Regions from separate parts of the Homo sapiens genome. Here all the other regions are linked to region 2. The links are contacts of gene promoters, found by promoter capture Hi-C in blood cells and fetal thymus (Javierre and others, 2016). All regions are on one chromosome and are shown on one strand. The core of a region is centred on a gene start or on the middle of the fragment in contact, and the rest is flanking DNA. Distances in the headings are between cores, read along the strand shown.

What was found. Contacts are between HindIII fragments. The CHiCAGO score rates a contact against its expected background, and 5 or more counts as called.
Region 1: a contact is called between a fragment that was not itself captured here and the fragment with the promoter of IL4R in region 2, in 1 of 17 cell types (monocytes). The highest score is 5.5, in monocytes.
Region 3: a contact is called between a fragment that was not itself captured here and the fragment with the promoter of IL4R in region 2, in 5 of 17 cell types (total B cells, activated CD4 T cells, non-activated CD4 T cells and 2 more). The highest score is 6.8, in total B cells.
Region 4: a contact is called between a fragment that was not itself captured here and the fragment with the promoter of IL4R in region 2, in 4 of 17 cell types (monocytes, non-activated CD4 T cells, total B cells and 1 more). The highest score is 6.7, in monocytes.

What each region holds. Positions count from the first base shown.
Region 1 is chr16:27,395,490-27,398,189 of GRCh38, reverse strand. No RefSeq gene overlaps it. Among named protein-coding and RNA genes, the nearest start is that of IL21R, 5.3 kb to the left of the region's middle. The HindIII fragment of the contact is 8,609 bases long and covers 1-2,700 here.
Region 2 is chr16:27,312,578-27,315,277 of GRCh38, reverse strand. It overlaps IL4R (interleukin 4 receptor), which reads right to left and starts at 1,304. Exons shown (of 11, transcript NM_000418.4): 1 at 1,258-1,304. RefSeq lists silencers at 564-613, 1,054-1,263, 1,284-1,583 and an enhancer at 1,361-2,091. The HindIII fragment of the contact is 16,225 bases long and covers 1-2,700 here.
Region 3 is chr16:27,433,929-27,436,628 of GRCh38, reverse strand. IL21R (interleukin 21 receptor) reads right to left here. Exons shown (of 9, transcript NM_181078.3): 3 at 2,180-2,282. Among named protein-coding and RNA genes, the nearest start is that of IL21R-AS1, 18 kb to the left of the region's middle. The HindIII fragment of the contact is 7,943 bases long and covers 1-2,700 here.
Region 4 is chr16:27,417,041-27,419,740 of GRCh38, reverse strand. The region is part of intron 1 of IL21R (interleukin 21 receptor); the gene reads right to left. Among named protein-coding and RNA genes, the nearest start is that of IL21R, 16 kb to the right of the region's middle. The HindIII fragment of the contact is 5,619 bases long and covers 1-2,700 here.

The sequences.
Region 1 (2,700 bases), core at 133-2,632, 83 kb before region 2:
ATGAACACTTGCATGCGAGTCTTTGTGTAGACATGCATTTTCAAATCTTTTGGATATATACCCAGAAGGAGACTTGTTGAGTTAAAGGTAGTTTAACTTATTAACTTTTAAATAAGTTTAACTTATTAAGAAACTGACAAACTGTTTTTCACAGCAGCTGCCCTGTATTATATTCCCACCAGCAATGTCTGAAGGTTCCCATTTCTCTACGTCCTTGACAATATGTATTTTCTTTTTTTTTTTTTTCTTTTTTTTTTTTTTTTTGAGATGGAGTCTCGGTCTGTCGCCCAGGCTGGAGTGCAGTGGCGCGATCTCGGCTCACTGCAAGCTCCGCCTCCCGGGTTCACGCCATTCTCCTGCCTCAGCTTCCCGAGTAGCTGGGACTACAGGTGCCTGCCACCACGCCTGGCTAATTTTTTGTATTTTCTTTTGTAGAGACGGGGTTTCACCGTGTTAGCCAGGATGGTCTCGATCTCCTGACCTCGTGATGCGCCCGCCTCGGCCTCCCAAAGTGCTGGGATTACAGGCGTGAGCCACCGCACCCAGCAGACAATATGTATTTTCTGTTGGTTTTTATTATAGCCATCCTAGCGGATGTGAAGTGGTATCTCATTGTGGTTTTGATTTGCATTTCCCTAATGGCTAATGATGGTAAGCATCTTTTCATGTGCTTGGTAGTCATTTGCATATCTTGTTTGGAGTAATGTCTATTGAAGTCCCTTGCCAAATTTTATTTATTTTATTTTTTTTTTAGACAGAGTCTTGATCTGTCTCCCACACTGGAGTGCAGTGGTGTGATCTTGGCTCACTGAAACCTCTACCTCCTGGGTTCAAGCGATTCTTGTGCCTCGGCCTCCCGAGTAGCTGGGCTTACAAACGTGTGCCACCATATCCAGCTAATTTTTGTGTTTTTAGTAGAGACGGGTTTTCACCATGTTGACCAGGCTGGTCTCGAACCCTTAACCTCAGGTGATCCGCCCACCTCAGTCTCCCAAAGTGCTGGGATTACAGGCATAAGCCACCGTGCCCAGCTCCTTGCCAATTTTTAAATTTGATTGTTCATCATTTGTTGTTGAATTTTAAGAGTTCTTTGTATATTCTGGAAACTCACCTTTATCAGATATATGAATTACAAATATTTTTCCCATTCTGTGGCTGTCTTTTCACTTTGTTGATAGTGTGCTTTAATGCAAAAAAAATGAAAAAAAATTGACTATAGATTCATGGGTTTATTTCTGAACTCTAAGTTCAATTCCATTGATCTATATGTCTAGCCTTGTGCCAGGATTATCACACTGTTTTGATTACTGTAGCTCTGCAGTAAGTTTTGTTTTGTTTTGTTTTTGTTTTTGTGTTGTTTTGAGACAGAGTTTCGCTCTTGTTGCCCAGGCTGGAATGCAATGGCACAATCTTGGCTCTGCAGTAAATTTTAAAAATGGGAATTTGAGTCCTCCAACTTTATTGTTTTGGCTTTTCTGGGTCCCTTGAAATTTCACATGATTTTTAGGATCAGTTTTTCCATTTTTTAAAAAAGGCCATTGGGACTTTTATAGGAATTGCATTAAATCTATAAATTACTTTGAGGAGTGCAATGTTAAATCTTCCATTACATTAACATAGAATTTAAAAAACTTTATTTAGGTCTTTTCTAATTTTTTCAGCAATATTTTATAGTGTTCAGTGTACAAATCTTGCACCTCCTTGGTTAAATTTATTCTTAAGTATTTTATTATTTTTGATGCTATTATAAATAGAATTTATTTAATTTCCTTTTGGGGTTGTTTATTGCTAGTATATACAAACACAATTTATTTTTGTATGTTGATCTTATACCCTGTCACTTGGCTGAATTTATTAGCTCTAATAATTTCTTTGTGCGTTCTTTAGAATTTTCCATATATATGATCATGTCATCTGCGAATAACAGTAGTTTTTACTCTTTCCTTTTCCCATTTGAATGCCTTTTATTTCTTTTTCTTGCTGAATTGTTCTGGTTAAAACTTTCAGTGCAATGTTGAATACCAGTGGTGAAAGTGGGCATCCTCTTTCCTGATCTTGGTGGAAAAGTTTTCAGTCTTTCACTGATTTAGTGTGATGTTAGCTTGTTAGCTGCGGGTTTTTCTTTCTTTATTTCTCTTTCTTTCTTTCTCTCTTTCCTTCTTTCTCTGTCTCTCTCTTTTTTATTTGAGATGGAGTCTCACTCTGGTGCAGGTTGGAGTGCAGTGGCATGATCTTAGCTCATTGCAACCTCATGGGTTCAAGTGATTCTCCTGCCTCAGCCTCCCAAGTAGCTGGGATTACAGGTGTGTGCCACCACATCCAACTAATTTTTGTATTTTTAGTAGAGACAGCATTTCACCATGTTGGCCAGGCTGGTCTCGAACTCCTGATCTCAGGTGATCTGCCTGTCTCGGCCTCCCAAAGTGCTGGTATTACAGGCATGAGCCACTGTGCCCAGCCAGGTTTTTCATATATGGTCTTTATCATGTTGAGGGAGTTCTCTCTTATTCCTACTTTACTGAGTGTTTTTATCATGAAAGGGTGTTAAATTTTGTCAAATGCTTTTCTGCATCAATTTGGATGATCGTGTGGGTTTTCTTATTCTATTAATGTTATGTATTGTATTGATTAATTTTCTTATGTTGAACCACCCTTGCATTCCTGGGATAAATCCTTTTTGGTCACACTGTATAATCCTTT
Region 2 (2,700 bases), core at 55-2,554:
CTGGAATGCCCTAATGTGCAGGACACCCTGGCCAAACCTACACCTGAGCCTGTTTCCCCATTGGACTTTGGGATTTTGATAAAGGCACTGAGGTCCCAGCAAATGCCTTGGGCTCCTCATAGGCTACTGGGGGCAGGGAAGTGCAGTGGGTCATGCCTCCCAGAGGGCTGGGGAAGGGGAGAGACTAGAACTGGAGCAGGGTTAGCGCTGGCCTGGGGGCATTCCTTGAACCCCAGAAGCAGACAAACTAGTGGTCCCCTATCTTGCTTAAGTCTAAGAAATCCAGATTTTGTTTAAAAAAAAAATCAGGGCTCAGTGGCTCACACCTGTCATCCCAGCATTTTGGGAGGCCGAGGTGGGAGGATCACTTGAGGCCAGCCTGGACAACATAGTGAGACACCATCTTTATAAAATAAATTTTTAAAAATAAAATAAAGATCAGATTCCTGGGTTTACTGAATCTGAATCTCAGGGCAAGGACCTGGGAATCTGCATTTTAAGCAAATCTCCCGGAGATTCTGGTTATTGTGGGGGCTCCTCAAACGTGATTGAGAGATGGAGAGCAGCTGGCTCTGGCGTGGGATTGCCTGGGCTCTAGTCCTGCTGCCCCACGGACTCCCAAGTGGGCGGCACCTTAGGGCAAGTTACTAAAGCGGCTGGGGTCTTGGTGACCTCATCTGTACAATGTCCATGACGCACAGCACCGGCCACAGAGAAGTTAGTGGGAGGTTTCACTTGGCATCCTTTCAGTAAAACAAGTCCCAGTCAATGATCGCGATTATTGGGTCCATCTGATATTCGGAGGCGGAGACCGCCCCGATTCACTGACCTACTACTCAAATTTACAGTTCTCAGAACTTTCCCCACCCTTTCTCTCTCCGAAGTCCTCACTGACTTCCTGAGCGCAGGGCTGGGCGCCACTGCCCGGAGAAGAGGGGCTGCGTGGCCTCCGACAGCCTAACCCCAAGCCCCCCACCCCCGCAGGCCGTCCCGGCGGAGGTCTCACTGCCAGCACCGGCTTTGGGGAGCGCTGGGTGTCCACGTACCCCGGGCCTCGCGCCTCCGCTGCCGTTCGGCGGCAAGGACGGAACCGGGCGCTGCTCCGCGCGCACCGAGAGTCGCGGGCTCGGGCCCCGCTCGGAGTCGGGGTGGTCCCCGTGGTCCCCGCCGGCGGCCGAGCCCTTCCCGAACGCCCTCAGCCGGCGTGCCCGGGCGATACCTTCGCAACCCGATCCGCGCGCGGGCCCCGGATCCTACCTGCGCGCCCCTGCTCCATTCGCCGTCCGGGCGCCCAAGCGGGAAGTGGGGGACCCCTGGGTGGCCCTTCCCTGGCCCGCGCCGCGCGGGGCTTTCCTGGGCGCGGAGACCCAGCCCGCCCCGGCTTCCTGCTCCCCGCCCCGGCGCCCGGCAGATTTGCATGCGCCGCCCCGCCCGGCGCGCCCGGCCCGGGTCCCGGCCACCTCGCGCCCCTGTCGCTGTCCCCGCCGCCGCCGCCGGACAGTCCGAGCCGCCGTCCTCTCCTGGGGGCGACCCCAGCACCTCGCTGGGTGTCTTGCCGCGCGCTTCCTCCCACGCCGTAGCCCGAGGTCACGCCCAGCGGAGAACTCTGCAGTGGATCCCCTTGGTCTCGGAATAAAACGCCCACGCCGACCAGGCCTCCAGGACCTGCTCCTGCCTGGCCTCCGCGGCCTCTTTTGCGCCGGGGCAGTTGCGTTTGGTGGGGGAGGGCTGGGCGACTGGAATCCTCCTCCCCTTCCTAACAGCCCGGCTTCCAAGTGAGAGTGGTTGCACATTCTTCAATAAATGTTTACCCAACTCCTACTCCAGCCACATTTGGATAGTAAAACAGCCCTTCAATCAGTAACTAGTACAATCTGTCGGGCACTGCAAATGTTAACTCGTTCAATCCTGGCAACTACCCTATAAGGGAGTGATACTATCACCGGTTTTACAAATCAGGAAACTGAGGCACAGAGTCCTTAAGAAATTCAAAATGGGTTGGGCAAAGTGGCTCATGCCTGTAATCCCAGCACTTTGGGAAGCTGAGGCGGGAGGATCACTTGAACCCCATAGTTCGAGACCAGCCTGGGCAACCCTGTTAGCGAGACCCCTATCTACAAAAATTGACATTTATAAAATTTTAAAAAAGAAAAGAAAGAAACTCAGAATCACTCTGCAGGTAAGCAGGAGCAGGGGTGGAGCTGGGATTCGAACACAGGCCCCATAGACCATTAACGTCTGGACACCATAAGAACCCGGATGCAGCCAGATGACTGGGGGGAAAACACTCAACAAAGTATTTCAGGTCAGGAGGGCCCAAGAAGAAAGTAGGGACCTCTTAGACCAGTGGGGCAGGTGGTCTGGAAGAGGCTTTTTGAGTAGAGGCCATTTGAGCTGAGACTCTGAAGAGCCTATGGGGGAAGACTTGTGTAGGGAGAGGGAAGAGCTAGTGCAAAGGCCCTGTGGGAACCAGCTCAGCCTGCAGGAGGAATTGCTGAAGGCCGGCATGGCTGTGGAGCCCTGAGTGAGGAAAGAGCGGAGACAGGGGAGGTGGGAGATATTTGGACTCACACTGGGCAGTGCTGAGAACCCAGAGAGTAATTTGACCCCCTGCTGCCCTCAAGGAGCTCTCAGTTTGAGGGTGGAAGCCAAGGACTGCCCAATGGGATCAAGTGCTGTGGTGGAGGGTGAGGGTTGGCT
Region 3 (2,700 bases), core at 186-2,685, 120 kb before region 2:
TTTGAAGTATGTATAGTAGTTTACCGGATATTAATTTCCCTACCTAGATGTTCAGGATCTGAACATGACCACTCTCTAGGCCCAGTAGGGATGTGTGGACTGAGTTCTCTGCCAAATTTGCTGGAATACAAGTTCCTGCTGAATAAATGCTCTCCAAGCCTCCCAGCCTGAACTTGCTCCTTATTCCCCCTCACCCTGCCTCACTCCACTCCAGCCACACTGACCTCCTCCCTATTCCTCAAACGCACCAGCTCTTCTCCCACAGGGCCTTTGCACTGGCAGTGCCCTCTGCCCAGCTCCCTGGCTTCCTCCTTCTCACTAGCAGTTGTGGTCCCTTTACCTGAGGTCCAGTGTTCTGTCCTTGATATAGCACCCAGTATTATTAGAAAGTATCCTGTTTGGGGCAGAACACGGTGGCTTATGCCTGTAATCCCAACACTTTGGGAGGCTGGCCATGCGGCAGACCGGCCATCCCGGGGTCTCAAAACCATGGGCGACCTGTGTGGGCGAGAGAGTGGTCTTTGAAGCTGGTGGATAGACCAACCCTGCGGGCTCCTGACTTTTCAAGTCCTGTGAGCCCTGAGTGGTTGTCTGAAAGGCGGGTACAGTGGGCGGATCACTTGAGGCCAGGAGTTCGAGACCAGGTGGGCTAACATGACAAAACCCTGTCTCTACTTAAAATACAAAAATTAGCCAGGCATGGTGGTGCACACCTGGATGCAATCCCAGATACTTGGGAGGTTGAGGCAGGAGAATTGCTTGAACCCAGGAGGTGGAGGTTGCAGTGAGCCGAGATCATGCCACCGCACTCCAGCCTGGGCAACAGAGTGAGACTCCGTCTCCAAAAAAAAGAAAGAAAGAAAGTGTCCTGTTTGGGCCTGGCATGGTGGCTCACACCTGTAATCCCAGCACTTTGGGAGGCTGAGGTGGGCAGATTGCTTGAGCCCAGGAGTTTGAATCCAGCCTGGGTAACATGGCAAAACCCTGTCTTTACAAAAACTACAAAAATTATCCAGGTATGGTGATGCATGCCTGTAGTCCCAGCTACTCAGGAGGCTTAGGTGGAGGGATTGCTTGAGCCCAGGAGGTCAAGGCTACAGTGAGTTCTGATCCCACCACTGCACTCCAGCCTGGGCAACAGAGCAAGACCCTGTCTCAAAAAAATAAAATAAAATAAAATAAAATAAAATAAAAAAGAGAAAGCACCTTGTTGGTTGTTTTGTGTGTCTGTCTCCCCCAGCCTCCGCCCCACCGTGGTACGTCAGTTCCAAGGCATCTGGGGCCTGGTCAGTCTTGCTCTGCTGAATCCCCAGTGCCTGCAACAGTGTCTGGCAGGAACTTAATACATGTTTTGTTTTGTTTTGTTTTGTTTTTGAGTTGGGATCTTGCTTTTTTGCCCAGGCTGGAGTGCAGTGGCGTGATCATAGCTCACTGCAGCCTCGACCTCCTGAGCTTGGTCCCCCTGCCTTAGACTCTCAAGTAGCTGGGATTACAGGATTGTGCCACCACGCCCGACTGATTTATTTTTTGTAGAGACAGGGTTTTGTGATGTTGCCCAGGCTGGTCTCAAACTCCTGGGCTCAAGTGATCCTCCTTCCTTGGCCTCCCAAAGTGCTGGGGTTAGAAACATGAGCCACTGCACCTGGCCTATAAATGGTTTTGAATGAATGAATGAGCTGATGGATAACAGAAGCTCTTCTTTATCCTGAGCTGCATAGGGTCTAAAAGGGACCCATGGACTTTGGAGTTGGGCGGTCTGAATTTGAATCCCAGCTCCAGCATTCACTGGCTGTGTGACCTTAGGCAAGTTGCTTAACCTCTCTGAACCTCAATGTCCTCATCTGTAAAATGGGAGTAATCATTGTGAGGGTTGGGGGTGACCATTCATGGGAAGCGTGTAGTTGGGGGCCTGGTACCTAAGTGCTTGAAAAATCATGCGGGAAACCAGCCATCCCGGGGTCTCAAAACCATGGCCGACCTGTGTGGGTGAGAGAGTGGCCTTTGAAGCTGGTGGATAGACCAACCCTGCGGGCTCCTGACTTTTCAAGTCCTGTGAGCCCTGAGTGGTTGTCTGAAAGGCGGACACAGTGGTCCTCAGTGCACAGTGTCCTCCTGGGGGAATCACTGAGCAGGCACCCTGAATTGCATCCCCGGGGACTGGTGAGGCCCGGCTACTTACCAGGTAAGGGTGAGCGTGCTGGGGTGGAGGTTCCACATTTCCAGGATGCAGATGACCGTCTGGAGGTAATCGGTGTAGCAGACGAGGTCGGGGCAGCCCCAGCCTGGAGGGTCAGTGGGGAGAGAGGCCTTGGTGGGGGGTGGCTTGGGACTGCAGAGCTTCCTCTCCATCCCCTCGAGGGCTGGAGGAAGAATGGGTGCAGGGGTCCCCAGGCCGGGACAAATATGAGGACTCAGGAGCTGCTTAGATGTAGGCCTGGCACCCAGGGGGCCTCACCACCTGGAAATTCCTTGTTTGAGCACCAATGTTTCAAGGCTGGCTATGAAGACAGGATGCATGTGATGGCAAATAATATAAAACTAGCTGGTCCCCAGCTCAGCACCCTCCTCCAGAGCCCTGCGCCCGGCCACCAGGTCTGTGTCCCTCCTGGCCAAGCTCCCACTCAGAATGGCAATATCCTAAATGCCCCAGATGTGGTAGGAACCCAGCCAGAGCACACGCACACACCCCAAGAGGGTCAG
Region 4 (2,700 bases), core at 82-2,581, 100 kb before region 2:
AAAAAAAAATGTTGGAGGGGCACAGTGGCTTACGCCTGTAATCCCAGCACTTTGGGAGGCTGAGGCAGGCAGATCACTTGAGGTCAGGAGTTGGAAACCAGCCTGGCCAACATGGTGAAACCCCATCTCTACTAAAAATACAAAAATTAGCCAGGCACGGTGGTGTGTGCTTGTAATTCCAGCTATTCGTGAGACTGAGGCACAAGAATCGCATGAACCCAGGAGGTGGAGGCTGCAGTGAGCCAAGATTGTGCCACTGCACTCCAGCCTGGGTGACAGAGCAAGACTCTTAAAAACAAACAAAAAATGTTAACTTGTAAAACAGCCTCAGGCAGGTCCTTCAGGATGGATTCCGGAAGAAGGCATCATTATCATAGGAGATGCCAGCTCCATGTGTGTTTTTGCCACTGAAGACCTTCCAGTGGGACAAAATGTGGAGGTGGAAGACAGTCATATTGGTGATCTTGACCCTGTGTAGGCCTAGGCTAATGTGTCTGCCTGTGTCTTAGATTTTTTGTTTTTTGTTTTCTGGGTTTTTTTGAGATGGAGTTTTGCTCTTGTTGCCTAGGCTGGAGTGCAATGGCGTGGTGTTGGTTTTCCCGGGTTCAAGTGATTCTCCTGTCTCAGCCTCCCAAGTAGCTGGGATTACAGGCGCCCGCCACCATGCTTGGCCAATTTTGTATTTTTAGTAGAGATGGGGCTTTCACCATGTTGGCCAGGCTGGTCTCGAATTCCTGATTGCAGGCGATCCGCCCTCCTTGGCCTCCCAAAGTGCCGGGATTACGGGCATGAGCCACCATGCCCCGCGTGTCTTAGGTTTTAACAAAAAAAAATTTTTTTAAGTAAAAAAATAAAAAATAAAAAATTTTAAAATATAATATATAAAAAGGCTTTTAGAATAAGAATATAAAGAAAAATATTTTGTATAGCTGTACAATGTGTTTGTGTCTTAAGTGTTAGTACAAGAGTGCACGAAAACACTTAAGTGTTATTACAATAAGATAACTGTTATTACAAAAGTGTTATTCAAAAAGTTTTAAAAAGTTAAAATGTTTATAAAGAAAAAATGTTGGCGGGGCGCAGCGGCTCATGCCTGTAATCCCAGCACTTTGGGAGGCCAAGGCGGGCAGATCACGAGGTCAGGTGATCAAGACTATCCTGGCTAACATGGTGAAACCCCGTCTCTACTAAAAATACCAAAAAAATTAGCCGAGCGTGGTGGCGCGCACCTGTAGTCCCAGCTACTCTGGAGGCTGAGACAGGAGAATTGCCTGAACCTGGGAGGCGGAGGTTGCAGTGAGCTGAGATCGCGACACTGCACTCCAGCCTGGGTGATAGAGTGAGACTCTGTCTCAAAAAATGAAATAAAATAGGGCCGGGCGCGGTAGCTTACGCCTGTAATCCCAGCGCTTTGGAAGGGCGAGACGGGCAGATCACAAGGTCAGGAGATCGAGACCATCCTGGTTAGCACGTGAAACCCCATCTCTACTAAAAATACAAAAAATTAGCCGGGCGCAGTGGCAGGCGCCTGTAGTCCCAGCTACTTGGGAGGCTGAGGCAGGAGAATGGCGTGAACCCGGGAGGCGGAGCTTGCAGTGAGCCGAGATCACGCCACTGCACTCCAGCCTGGGCGATAGAGCGAACCTCCGTCTTAAATAAAATAAAATAACATAAATAAAATAAAATAAAATAAAATAAAATAAAATAAAATAAAATAAAATAAAATAAATAAAATAGGAAAAATGTTACAGTAAGCCAAAGTTAATTTATTATTTTAAAAATTCAAATAAATTTAGAGTAGCCTAAGAGTTCAGTGTTGATAAAGTTTACAGGAGTGTACAGCAATGTCCTGGGCCTTCACATTCCCTCAGCACTTAATCACTGACACCCAGAGCAACTTCGAATCCTGCAAACTGCATTCATGGTAAGTGCCCTACACAGGTGTGCCGTTTTTTCATATTTTATATTATGTTTTCACTGTACCTTTTCTATGTTTAGATACACAAATACTTACAATTGTGTTACAGTTGCCTACAGTATTCAGTACCGTATCATGCTGTGCAGGTTTGTAGCCAATTATAGGCTGTAAGATACAGCCTAGGTGTGTAGTAGGCTATACCACCTAGGTTTGTGTAAGTGCACTCTATGACGTTCACACAATGACAAAATTACCTAATGACACATTTCTCAGAATGTATCCTCGTCATTAAGCAATGTATGACTGTTTCCATATGACCAAGAAATTTCACACCTAGTTATATAGTGAAAAGAATTGACCAGATGCAGTAGCTCATGCCTGTAATCCCAGCATACTGGGAGGCCAAGGCGGGAGGGTTGCTTGAGCCCAGGAGTTTGAGACTAGCCTGGGTAACATGGCAAGACCTCATCTCTACAAAAATTAAAATGAAAACATTTTCTGGGCATGGTGGTATGTACCTGTGGCCCCAGCTACTCAGGAGGCTAAGGTGGGAGGATCACATGAGCCCAAGAGTTTGAGGCTACAGTGAGCTGTTTTCACACCATTGCAGTCCAGCCTGGGTGACAGAGTGTGACCCTGTCTCAAAAAAAAAAAAAAAAGAAAAGAAAAAAGAAAGAAAAAGGAAAGAAAACAATTGCGGATATATGTCCAGAAAGAAATGTACAAACCATTGTAGACAAATATTCACAGCAACATTATTCATAATACCAAAAAACTGGAAA